Regions from separate parts of the Homo sapiens genome. Here region 2 is linked to region 1. Evidence: promoter capture Hi-C in 16 types of primary human blood cells and fetal thymus (Javierre and others, 2016). All regions are on one chromosome and are shown on one strand. The core of a region is centred on a gene start or on the middle of the fragment in contact, and the rest is flanking DNA. Distances in the headings are between cores, read along the strand shown.

Region 1 (6,813 bases), core at 1,336-3,835:
AACAAGAGGTCTGGGCTTTGTGTCCACCCTAAGGAAAACAGCTGAGCCACCCTAAGGAAAACAGCTGATGGCAGTGTGCTGAGCCGCCATCCAGACAGCTGACGGGGCCCCAGTGCAAAGGCAAATTCCTCTCCCCTCCTGCACACCCCATTCCTCCCACCCCAGGCTCCGGTCAGTCAGGCGTGGCTTGCCCCTTGGGAGCTCAGGCCAAGGAAGTCGGGCAGCCCGGATGTAAGCAACTGGGAGTCTATGGTAGAAAGCAGTAGAAGTTACAGGTGATCGCCATCACCCAGTGGCAACCCCTCCTTCAAGTGCCCTTGCCTCCTCCCCAGGAAAAAAAGTCTTCTCGGTATACAAGAGCCACAGATCTGGGAGCTAGGAATTGGGCTTCCAGTTATGGTTTTGTCATTTCATGGCTGTGCAGCCTTGGGCAAGAGAATCAGCCTCTCTTCGTCTCGGCTTTCTCAATCTGTAAAAAGGCAGGTGGTCATGACAGCATTGGCTTTAAGGTGGAATCTGATAAAAGGGTTGTTGTGAGGATATCACAAATCGAGGTAGAGGGAAGTACTCCACAAACAGCAATTTAAATCCCTACAATCCCCTCTCCCGTATACAGTACTCTCTTTCCTTTCAGAACTCAGTTTCCTGGCCCTAAATGGAAGACTGTCAGAAGACAGGAATTCCAGATTTCGATGGCGAGCTCTACAAAGACTTTCTCAGTCCTTGAAACAGCACGGGGACTGCCGAGAAGCAACAGAACTGCACCAGCACTTTAGAAACTGTAACTTTGCTCCCAGTTCCCACTGGGAAAGCACTCAGACTCTTAGATCCTGGTTCAAAGAACATCCCCCAGCCTCCTTCCAGCTGAGCTATTTTTATGTGAAAAAAAAAAATACCTGCCTGGAAGCCATGCCAACCTTGAGCACACTGGAAAAATGGGTGCCAAGCCTGACCCAAAGGCAGAACCACGCTTGGCAGCCATCTCACTCTGCAAAACAGGCAGGACCCTACACCAACCCCAGCTCCAGGATCTCAGGGGCACCCTGATCCCAAAAGGAAGCTGGAGGGAAGCAGTCAAGTCCAGCACCTACAAATAGCCAGTCTTAACTTAGTGCCCGGCGCTGCTTGGTAGAGGTCCATCAGTCCTGTCTGCTGAATCTACTCCTCAGAGCCTGGGACAGAGGAAGCATCAGTGGTCACACAAGCCACCCACAGTCCAGAGAGGAAAGACAAGGCTCCTGCAGAGAAGAAACGTTGCCCCCCTCCTCACCTCCCAAGCTCAGGGCCCTCCAGCTACAGGCGTGAAGGGGAGGGAGAGACAGCGAATCCTCCCACTCCTGCGTTCACGCCACCCAAGGCATTCCTAGAACCCTGGCACCAACCCCCTTGGGTTTAGAGTCGGCTTCCAGGAGATACTTTCTTTCCCCTAACACCAGATCAAGACTGGACTGAAAAGAGTAGCCTTGGGGCTCCAATAACAGGAAAACAGTAAAACTCTGTTCTGGGCATCCTGTCCTCTTTCACCTGCGTGGCTTCCAGCAGGGCCTGACGCAGAGAGGGTGGAGGGGACTCTGCTAGCCAGGACACGTTCAGGGATGGTCATACCTTGGGGCCCACCTTCCACCTCATTCCCCTGGCATTTCACCAGAATCTAGGGGTGGGGAGAGAATCAGGACTCCCAAATTACCGTTCTAGACTTAGATACCATGGTAGACGGACTGGTCTGTGAATTGAGGGGCTGGTCCACAGAGCGGGGAGGTCAGTGAGAGAAAATGAGTGATGGGTCCTTGAAACGGGGTGACCAGATTTGAAGTGGGGGGTCAGAAGAGCAGGCAGACTGGGAAACTTGTCTTTGAAATGGGGGTGTGGTCATCACACGCTCATCTCTAGCTTTTGCATCTGACTTGTGAAATGAAAGGGGTGGGCTCCGAGGGGTTATCCCTGAAGGGGGGTGCTAGTCTGTGAAGTGGGGGGCGGCCCTGGAGGGACGGGGAGCAGGTCGAGGAAATGAGGGAGCAGCCCATGAGATCGGGCAGCTGCTCCCCGAGTTGGGCGGTCGATCTGTGAGGTGGGGGTGGGGAGAGGTCTGCGAGGTGAGGGTCCCGTAGCTGACGAGGTGGTCTGCCGCAGGAAGTCTCGTCCCTGCAGCGGACGGGGTGGGTCCCTGAGGGGCGGGCTGGTCCCTGGGGCCCTTCTGGGAGATGGTGATGGGTCCCCGAGGTCGGGGGTCCAGAGGTGAAGCCGTCCCAGACGGGGGGTCGCTGCTGTGCGGTCGGTGCCGGGGCCGGCCTGGCCCGAGACTAAGGCCCGGTTAGGGATCCCAGCCCCGCGGAGCCCCGGCCGGCAGGGACAGGAGCTGAGGCCGGGGCCGCCGAGGGTGGGATCCCGCGGCCCCTGCCGCTCGCTGGCGCCCTCCTGGCCCCAAGCTGCGCGCCTCTCGCCTCCTCCTCCCTCGGCCTCCCGCTCACTCACCGAGGTCGTCCATGGCCGGACCACGGGCGCCGGCTCAGGGTCGCGCTAGCTGCCCGTCCCGGGGCCGCTCGTCTATGCCCCGCAACTTTTCCGCCGCGAGCCTCGGCCCGGAACGGAACGCGCCGCCGCCGCGCGCGCCCGCGCCCGCGCCCGCCGCGCGCCCCGCCCCCGGCCGCCCCCTGTGCACGCGCGCCCCGCCCCCGGACACCCCCGCGAGCTTGCTGGCCCCGCCCCCTGCGCACGCTGGTCCCGCCCCCGCCAAGAGCCCGGGCAGTGGGCGTCGCTGGGCGGGGCGGTGGCGCCCCCTCGCGGCTAAGCGGGCAGGTGGGCGGCTCCCAGGCCTCCAGCCACTCCCATCCATCTTTCTGTCCCTCTCAAAGTCACTTGCCTGACCCTGCGGATGACAAATCCGTCCACAGTCAGCCATGTGTCTGTGCATTCGTCAGCCACTGGGTCATCACATGCCTGTCCACTGGACAGTCAGTTTTGCCCACCTGTCCGTCTGTCACCTGTAGGTCACCACCCAGGAGGACCATAAATCAGTACCAGGCAAGGCCCGGAGCCCGTGGCTGACCTTTCCTGGGGTCGTCCTCTGGATCAATGGCAGTGCAGCTCGCAGTTCACCCTTTCTGGCCCAAACCCAATACCTGTGTGGTTCCATCTCTCTTAATATTACTTCCACACAGCCACCCTCCCTAGACACTTTTCCAAAACTGCATGGGGCAGAGGGGTCCCCAGATTAGACATTAAAGGGAAAACTACAGGAAAGTCACACCCAGTGCTCCCACACACTCGGAAATTGGGTAATAATAACAACTACCATTTATTGAGTGTCTGAATAGACAGACACTATATAGCTATTCTCTAAATTAATCCTCCTAGAGGTACTTCCCTACCCGTTGGGATGGGTGATGGCAGTTTGTGGATTTTATATAAAACTGCTCTGCAAGTACAGCTTCGAGTTCCCCTTGTCCCTCAAGAATCCAGGCCTTCTGGGTCAGATCAGGTCCTCCAGAAAGCAGATGAGATGCTGAGATAAAGCTAGGGGTAATGCCCGTGACAGAGAAGGGGAAATAAGCAGGGTTGGGCAAGGAGACTCAGATCTGACAAACAGGTCAACCCATCAGGGAATTCCAGGACAAAAAAAATGAGAAGTCTCCTTGGGCAGAAGTATCCGGGTTCCAATGCTCCCACCATGTTCAGTCATTTTATAAAGGCAGATCCAAGCAGCTTCTGTGGCTGCCACATTCTCCTATAATAAATTCAAGACCAAAGACTGTTCCTCAAACACTCTATTGCGTGGTTTTCCAGCATCTTGCACATACCTCTATTTTGTTTTAGTTTTTGTGTTTTTGTTTTTGTTTGAGATGGAGTCCCAATCTGTCGCCCAGGTTGGAGTGCAGTGGTGCAATCTCAGCTCACTGCAACCTCCGCCTCCCAGGTTCAAGTGATTCTCCTGCCTCCTGCTGGGATTACAGGCGCATACCACCATGCCTGGCTAATTTTTGTATTTTTAGTAGAGATGGGGTTTCACCATGTTGGCCAGGCTGGTCTTGAACTCCTGATCTCAGGTGATCTCCTGCCTCCTGGTGGGATTACAGGCGTGTACTACCATGCCTGGCTAATTTTTGTATTTTTAGTAGAGACAGGGTTTCACCATGTTGGCCAGGCTGGTCTTGAACTCCTGACTTCAGGTGATCCGCCCCCCTCAGCCTCCCAAAGTGCTGGGATTACAGGTGTGAGCCACCACGCCCAGCCTGTTTTTGTGTTTTTAAGACACAGTCTTGCTTTGTTGCGTAGGCTGGGATGATGAATAAGACTAACATGATGTCTACCTTCTTGAATCTAAAGGTGCACGCAAAAGAGCAAAGTGGTTAGCATGAAGGATGAGTAGCCTCGCCCCACTCCCAGCTGTGTGGAACAGCATGTGCAAAGGTCTGTAGACAAGACATTTAATACTGACCACAAGCCTAGGAGATGAGCATTGTTAGCCCCTTTTACAGCTGGAAGAGTTGAGAGTCAGAGGTTGAATTACTCCAGGTCATACAGCTAATAAGTAAGGAAACTGAGATTTGAACCTGGGGAGGCTTATGCCAAGGCCTGGTTATGAAACGGCTAAGTGAAACTGCTAACAACTTAGACCAACCCCAGGGCATACGCTTGTCCACTTCTCCAAAGGTCTAAAACCTTTCTTTTTCAAAGCTGTGTGGTCTGGAAATGCGAGGCACCCATTGAATGGGCAAGTTTCCCATTGCTATGCAGAGTTCTAAAGAGAACTGAAGCTTCAGAGTTGAGTGCTGGTGCACTCGAACACTCAGGTCCCTGCCAGGGATTTCCTCATGTAAATCATTCCTAAACCCCCATTTCCTCCCTGGCTTCCTTCTTCCCTTGGACTCTCACCCCACAGCAATTAAACTTGGTGTCTAGTTCAGGCTGCTACAACAAAATACTGTAGACCGAGTGACTTATAAACAACAGAAATTATTTTTTCACAGTTTTGGAGGCTGAAAGTTCAAGATCAGGGTGCCAGCACAGTCAGGTTCTGGTGAGGGCCCTCTTCTGGGTTGCAGACTGTTGACTTTTTGTACCCTCACACGGCTCAAAGAGGGTCCCTTTAATAAAGGCACTAACTAATCTCTTTCATGAGGGCCCTGCCCTCATGACCTAATCACCTGTCAGGCCTCACCTCCTAACACTATCGAATTGAGATTAGATTTCAACATATGAATTTTCAAGGATATGAACATTCAGTCCCTTGCATTTGATAAAATCAATCAGGTTTTTTCATTCTTCCTAAAGATTAAACGACATTGACAGAGCAGATGGACAACCCTGCTGACTTCTTGCTAGTGGTTCATCTTGGGCAATTTACTCTGTGCCTCAGTTTCTTCCCCTATAGAAAGGTTAATAGTAGCTACCTCTCAGAGTCCTCATAGGACTAAATAAGAAACGACACACCTAGTACTTAGAATGGTCCTTGTCACCACAAAATAACACTCTTCACTCAGCAATAGAAACAGAACTCGACCAGGCTCACACCTGTAATCCCAGCACTTTGGAAGGCCAAGGCGGGCGGATCACTTGAGGTCAGGAGTTCGAGACCAGCCTGGCCGACATGGCGAAACACCATCTCTACTAAAAATATATAAATTAGCTGGGCATAGTGGTGTGCACCGGTAATTCCAGCTGCTCAGGAGGCTGAGGCAGGAGAATCACCTGAACCCAGGAGACGGAGGTTGCAGTGAGTCGAGACTGTGCCACTGCACTCCTGCCTGCGCGACAGAGTGAGACTCTGTCAAAAAAAAAAACAAAGAAAGAAAGAAGGAAGGAAGGAAGAAAGGAAGGAAGGAAGGATGGAAGGAAGGAAGGAAGGAAAGAAAGAGAGAGAAAAGAAACAGAATGCAAGCCGGATATGCAATCAAAACTTTTCTTTTTTTTCTTTCTTTTTTTTGAGACAGAGTCTCACTCTGTCGCCCAGGGTGGAGTGCAGCGGCATGATCTCAGCTCACTGCAACCTCTGCCTCCCGGGTTCAAGTGATTCTCCTGCCTCAGCCTCCTGAGTAGCTAGGATTACAGGCACCCGCTATCACACCCGACTAATTTTTGTTTTTGTTTTTTTTTTTTTTTTTGAGACGGAGTCTTGCTCTGTCGCCCAGGCTGGAGTGCGGTGGCGCGATCTCGGCTCACTGCACGCTCTGCCTCCCAGGTTCATGCCATTCTCCTGCCTCAGCCTCCCAAGTAGCTGGGACTACAGGCGCCCGCCACCACGCCCAGCTAATTTTTTCTATTTTTAGTAGAGACGGGGTTTCACCGTGTTAGCTAGGATGGTCTCGATCTCCTGACCTCGTGATCCGCCCATCTCGGCCTCTCAAAGTGCTGGGATTACAGGCGTGAGCCACCGCGCCTGGCCAATTTTTGCATTTCTTTAAGTAGAGATGGGGTTTCACCATGTGGGCCAGGCTGGTCTTGAACTCCTGACCTCAGGTGATCCCACCTGCCTCACCTCCCAAAGTGCTGGGATTGCATGTGTGAGCCGCCGCGCCCGGCCCAATCAAAACTTTTTTAGCCAAGTGCAATGGCATATGCCTGTAGTCCCACCTACATGGGATACTGAGGCAGGAGGATTGCTTGAGTTTAGGAGTTTGAGTCCAAACTGGGAAACTAGCAAGACCTCCTCTCTAAAAAATATCTTTAAAAAAATAAAAGAAACAGGCCAGGCACGGTGGCTCATGCCTGTAATCCCAGCACTTTGGGAGGCCAAGATGGGTGGATTACCTCAGGTCAAGAGTTTGAGACCAGCCTGACCAACATGGTGAAACCCCATCTCTACTAAATATACAA
Region 2 (6,443 bases), core at 2,319-4,818, 340 kb before region 1:
TATTTGTTGTTTTTGAGCTTCCAGGTATATATATTTTTCTCTTCCAAACAGCACCCTGCTTGCATTTTGAAGAACTGCTTCTCCCTGGCTGTGGGAAATTCACAGGGCAGAGAGTCTAAGTATGCAGCCCTCACACTGTGGAAGCCAAAAGAGGTTTCTAGAGGCTTCTCCTAGCAGATCCTTTCTCTCCAGGCCCAGGGGGATGGGCATGTGTTCCAGTTATTGATGCTGTGTAAAAAACAACACCAAACTCAGAGGCTTAAAATGATCATTGTTAATTTCTTATGGTTCTAGGGTTGGCCATTTGGACAAATCTGCTGATCTTGCCTGGGCTCATCCACATGGCTACATTCAACCGGAAGTTTGGATGAGCTAGAAGATCCGAGACAGCCTCCCTCAGTAACTGGCAGTGGGTGCTGACTGTCCCCTGAGGAGCCTCAGTTTTCCTCCATATGACTGCTTGTCCCACAGGAGGCCAGGCAGAAGCTGCAAAGTTTCTTTTTTTTTTTTTTTTTTTTTAAATTTATTTTTTTATTGATAATTCTTGGGTGTTTCTCACAGAGGGGGATTTGGCAGGGTCATGGGACAATAGTGGAGGGAAGGTCAGCAGATAAACAAGTGAACAAAGGTCTCTGGTTTTCCTAGGCAGAGGACCCTGCGGCCTTCCGCAGTGTTTGTGTCCCTGGGTACTTGAGATTAGAGAGTGGTGATGACTCTTAAGGAGCATGCTGCCTTCAAGCATCTGTTTAACAAAGCACATCTTGCACCGCCCTTAATCCATTTAACCCTGAGTGGACACAGCACATGTTTCAGAGAGCACAGGGTTGGGGATAAGGTCACAGATCAACAGGATCCCAAGGCAGAGGAATTTTTCTTAGTGCAGAACAAAATGAAAAGTCTCCCATGTCTACTTCTTTCTACACAGACACGGCAACCATCCGATTTCTCAATCTTTTCCCCACCTTTCCCGCCTTTCTATTCCACAAAGCCGCCATTGTCATCCTGGCCCGTTCTCAATGAGCTGTTGGGCACACCTCCCAGACGGGGTGGTGGCCGGGCAGAGGGGCTACTCACTTCCCAGTAGGGGCGGCCGGGCAGAGGCGCCCCTCACCTCCCGGACGGGGCGGCCGGCCGGGCGGGGGGCTGACCCCCCCACCTCCCTCCCGGACGGGGCGGCTGGCCGGGTGGGGGGGCTGACCCCCCCATCTCCCTCCCGGACGGGGTGGCTGGCCGGGCAGAGGGGCTACTCACTTCCCAGTAGGGGCGGCCAGGCAGAGGCGCCCCTCACCTCCCGGACGGGGCGGCCGGCCGGGCGGCTGACCCCCCCACCTCCCTCCCGGACGGGGCGGCTGGCCGGGTGGGGGGGCTGACCCCCCCATCTCCCTCCCGGACGGGGTGGCTGGCCGGGCTGAGGGGCTCCTCACTTCCCAGTAGGGGCGGCCGGGCCGAGGCGCCCCTCACCTCCCGGACGGGGCGGCTGGCCGGGCGGGGAGCTGACCCCCCACCTCCCTCCCGGATCGGGCGGCTGGCCGGGCGGGGGGCTGACTCCCCCCACCTCCCTCCCGGACGGGGTGGCTGCCGGGCGGAGACGCTCCTCACTTCCCAGATGGGGTGGCTGCCGGGCGGAGAGGCTCCTCACTTCTCAGACGGGGCAGCTGCCGGGCGGAGGGGCTCCTCACTTCTCAGACGGGGTGGTTGCCAGGCAGAGGGTCTCCTCACTTCTCAGACGGGGCGGCCGGGCAGAGACGCTCCTCACCTCCCAGACGGGGTCTCGGCCGGGCAGAGGCGCTCCTCACATCCCAAATGGGGCGGCGGGGCAGAGGCGCTCCCCACATCTCAGAATATGGGCGGCCGGGCAGAGACGCTCCTCACTTCCTAGATGTGATGGCGGCTGGGAAGAGGCGCTCCTCACTTCCTAGATGGGATGGCGGCCGGGCGGAGACGCTCCTCACTTTCCAGACTGGGCAGCCAGGCAGAGGGGGTCCTCACATCCCAGACGATGGGCGGCCAGGCAGAGACACTCCTCACTTCCCAGACGGGGTGGCGGCCGGGCAGAGGCTGCAATCTCGGCACTTTGGGAGGCCAAGGCAGGCGGCTGGGAGGTGTAGGTTGTAGTGAGCCGAGATCACGCCACTGCACTCCAGCCTGGGCACCATTGAGCACTGAGTGAACGAGACTCCGTCTGCAGTCCCGGCACCTCGGGAGGCCGAGGTTGGCGGATCACTCGCGGTTAGGGGCTGGAGACCGGCCCGGCCAACACAGCGAAACCCCATCTCCACCAAAACCAGTCAGGCGTGGCGGCGCGTGCCTGCAATCGCAGGCATTCGGCAGACTGAGGCAGGAGAATCAGGCAGGGAGGTTGCAGTGAGCCGAGATGGCAGCAGTACAGTCCAGCTTCGGCTCCGCATGAGAGGGAGACCGTGGGGAGAGGGAGAGGGAGAGGGAGAGGGAGAGGGAGAGGGAGAGGGAGAGGGAGAGGGAGAGGGAGAGGGAGAGGGAGAGGGAGAGGGAGAGGGAGAGGGAGAGGGAGAGGGAGAGGGAGAGGGAGAGGGAGAGGGAGAGGGAGAGGGAGAGGGAGAGGGAGAGGGAGAGGGAGAGGGAGAGGGAGAGGGAGAGGGAGAGGGAGAGGGAGAGGGAGAGGGAGAGGGAGAGGGAGAGGGAGAGGGAGAGGGAGAGGGAGAGGGAGAGGGAGAGGGAGAGGGAGAGGGAGAGGTTTCTTAAAACCTGAGCTCTGAAGCTCACACAGCATCAAGTCTGCCACATTCTGTTGGTCAATGTGAGCCATGAGGCCAGTATCAGTTCAAGCGAGCAGAAGAATAGAGTCCACCTCTTGAAGGGAGGAACAGCAACACCACATTGCAAAGAGGGGTGGGTAAAGGGCCATTATTTATTTACTTTTCTTTTTGAGCAGGGTCTCACTCTGTCTCCCAGACTGCAGTGCAGTGACGCAATCATAAGCTCACTGCAGCCTCAACCTCCCAGGCTCAAGTGATCCTCCCACCCCGGCCTCCCAGGTATCCAGCACTAAAAGGTGCACACCACCACACTTGGCCAACTTTTGCATTTTTTGTAGAAACGGGTTACACCATGTTGTCCAGGCTGGTCTGGAACTCCTGGGCTCAAGCAATCCTCCTGACTCGGCCTCCCAAAGTGCTGAGATTACAGGCGTGAGCCACTGCAGAGAGCCATTATTATAATGATCTAGCACATCATGTGACCCAGGCCACTCCAATTAGACACTGTCTCTTGGGATTCCAGATACATATGTGTGTGTAAGAGTGTTCATGTGTATATTTATACATATACATATATGTATAAATGTTTGGTTTGAGTTGGCCAGAGTTGATTTCTGTGTCACTTGCAACCAAAATATCCTAACTGATACATGTATCAGGGCTATTGAGTGGAAGGCCTTTCTCAGGTTTTGGCATATCAGGGTATTTACTTCTTCTCATTGGTAATAAGGGAACAACACCAAGTCCCTGAGACCTGTCTTGTCCCCATTTCCAACTCCCGTGGTGGCTCCTTTTGGCCATGTCTGGACAATGTAATCCCAACTCCTTGACCATACTTGTTGGGACCAGAGTCGAAACTAACCCTACTGACCAGTGGTGAACGCCTGTAATCCCAGAACTTTGGGAGGCTGAAGCGGTCAGATCACCAGAGGTCAGGAGTTCGAGACCAGCCTGGCCAACATGGTGAAACCCTGCCTCTACTAAAAATACAAAAAATTATCCAGGCGTGGTGGTGCACTCCTGTAACCCCAGCTACTAGGGAGGCTGAGGCAGAAGAATTGCTTGAACCTAGAAGGCGGAAGTTGCAGTGAGCTGATATCATGCCACTGCATTCCAGCCTGGATGACAGAGCGAGACTCTGTCTCAAAAAAAGAAAGAAACTAATCCTACTAAGCCCAATCAGATTATTTCTGCCAGGATTTAAAATCAGAACATGAGAATCTGTCAGACTATACTATCCCTTGAATGAGGCCACATAAACTCAAAGACTGAGGATGGTCACCTTCCACCCTATGCAGAGAAAAATAGAGATGGTTGATGTGCAGAAAGAAGGAGCAGAGATACTGAGAGAATAGAGATGAGAGATGGTGTGGCATCTAAGAACCTGGCCGGGAACAGTGGCTCACCTCTGTAATCCCAGCACTTTGGGAGGCTAAGGTGGGTAGATCATTTGAGGTCAGGAGTTTGAGACCAGCCTGGTCAACATGGTAAAAACCCATCTCTACTAAAAATACAAAAAATTAGCTGAGTGTGGTAGTACAAGCCTGTAATCCCAGCTACTCGGGAGGCTGAGGCGGGAGAATCACTTGAACCTTGGGGGCAGAGGTTGCAGTGAGCAGAGATGGCATCAGTGCACTCCAGCCTGGGTGACAGTGCAAGGCTCTGTCTCAAAATAATAATAATAATAATAATAAAATAAAAATAAAAAGGGAAACCTGAGAGATGTTTACTCCTGAGAGCTTTCTGTTCCCTAGTTCTCGTCTCCTGGCCACAGCAATTGGTTCAGGAATCAGCAAATGACTGCATTCAGGTCAACAATAGAGAGTGAATCCTAGGACTAACATAAGAGATATCAGAAAATATATTATTTCTTCCCCTGGCTAGTCTGGTAGAAGTAGGCGGATCACCTGAGGTCAGGAGTTCGAGACCAGCCTGGCCAACATGGTGAAACCCTGTCTCTACTAAAAATACAAAAACTTAGCCGGGTATGGTGGTGCGCGCCTGTAGTCCCAGCTACTTGGGAGGCTGAGACACCAGAATCGCTTGAACCCGGGAGGCAGAGGTTGAAGTGAGCCAAGATTGCATCACTGCACTCCAGCCTGGATGACAGAGTGAAACTCCATCTCAAAAAAAAAAAAAAAAAAAAAAAAGAAAGTAAAATCTGGAGCAGCCACAAGACCACTGGGTGGACTGTGAAGATGACGCGAATACTATAGAAGTTAGAATGGAGAGGCCAGAGCTGAGCTTGGTGGCTCACACCTGTAATCCCATCATCTGGGGAGGCTGAGGTGGGTGGATCACGTGAGGCCAGGAGTTCAAGACCAGCCTGGCCAACATATCAAAACCCCATCTCTATTAAAAATACAAAAAAATGGTAGTCCCAGCTACTTGGGAGGGCTGAGGCATGAGAATCACTTGAGACCAGGAGGCAGAGGTTGCAGTGAACCGTGATCATGCCACTGCACTCCAGCCTGGGTAACAGACTGAGACCCTGTCTCAAAAAAAAAAGAAAAAAAAAAAGAAAAAGGAAAGAAAAGAAAAAATAACATATAAAGCTCAGAACTCATTTTTTTTGTACCCCTGGCCATTGATAGACACAACTTTCGGCCGGGTGAGGTGGCTCACGCCTATAATCTCAGCACTTTGGGAGGCCGAGGCAGGCGGATCACAAGGTCAGGAGATCGAGTCCATCCTGGCCAACTTAGTGAAACCTCATCTCTAGTAAAAATACAAAGATTAGCCAGGAGTGGTGGCAGGCATGTAATCCCAGCTACTCAGGAGGCTGAGGCAGGAGAACTGCTTGAATCTGGGAGGCAGAGGTTGCAGTGAGCCGAGATCACACCCCTGTGCTCCAGCCTGGTGACAGAGCGAGACTCCATCTCAAAAAAAAAAAAAAAAAAAAAAAAAGATAGATGCAACCCTCCTCTGCGAAATGTTGATCCAGAGGCTCAACCTGCAGGATTCAAAAGTGATTTTGGACCTCCAAATGTGACCTGAGGAACACCTCAGCTTGTGGGAGTTGATCAGATAACTCACTTTATTCTCCTGCTATTGGTAACTTAAAAAAAAGCAATGAGAGCTCCATCTTATAGATAAGACAAATTGAGGCTTATGGTGGTGATTTATCAGCTACAGTGACAAGATAAGAACTAGCAAAGGCAGTGGCTCACACCTGTAATCCCAGCACTTTGGGAAGGTGAGGCAGGAGGATCACTTGAGGCCAGGAGTTCGAGACCAGCCTGGGCAATATGGTGAGACCCTCGTCTCTACAAAAAATAAAAATACCAGCCAGGAATGGTGGTGCATGCCTGTAGTTCCAGTTACTTGGGAGACTGAGGTGGGAGGATCAGCTAAACCCAGGAGTTCGAGGCTGCAGTGAGCTATAATCGCACCACTGCACTCCAGCCTGGGCGACAGAGCAAGACTCTGTCTCAAAAAAAGAAAGAAAAAGAAAATTAAAACATTTTAATTATAAGAAAGAAAAAATAAATAACTAGCAAGGGCACTCATATTTGATGCTCTGCTGAGCTCTTAAATCGCCTTTGTAAATCATGTATTATTTACCTACCTAGACACCTAAAAACAGAACTGGGGGCTCCTCAGAAGCCAAGAGGAGCAGCCCAAAACAGAGGAAAAAAGGCCAGGAGTATTTTTAAATTTTACATCTAGTTTAAATGATCAGGACTTGGATTATAGTGATACAGTGCA

Evidence for each region. The method cuts DNA at HindIII sites, captures the fragments that hold promoters and counts their contacts. A CHiCAGO score of 5 or more calls a contact.
Region 2: a contact is called between a fragment that was not itself captured here and the fragment with the promoter of PXN in region 1, in 1 of 17 cell types (activated CD4 T cells). The highest score is 5.4, in activated CD4 T cells.

The regions. Positions count from the first base shown.
Region 1 is chr12:120,263,145-120,269,957 of GRCh38, forward strand. It overlaps PXN (paxillin), which reads right to left and starts at 2,586. Exons shown (of 15, transcript NM_001385981.1): 1 at 2,473-2,586. The coding sequence starts at 2,485. RefSeq lists silencers at 2,304-2,453, 2,614-2,893. The HindIII fragment of the contact is 6,296 bases long and covers 1-4,752 here.
Region 2 is chr12:119,917,292-119,923,734 of GRCh38, forward strand. No RefSeq gene overlaps it. Among named protein-coding and RNA genes, the nearest start is that of CIT, 43 kb to the left of the region's middle. The HindIII fragment of the contact is 9,411 bases long and covers 1-6,443 here.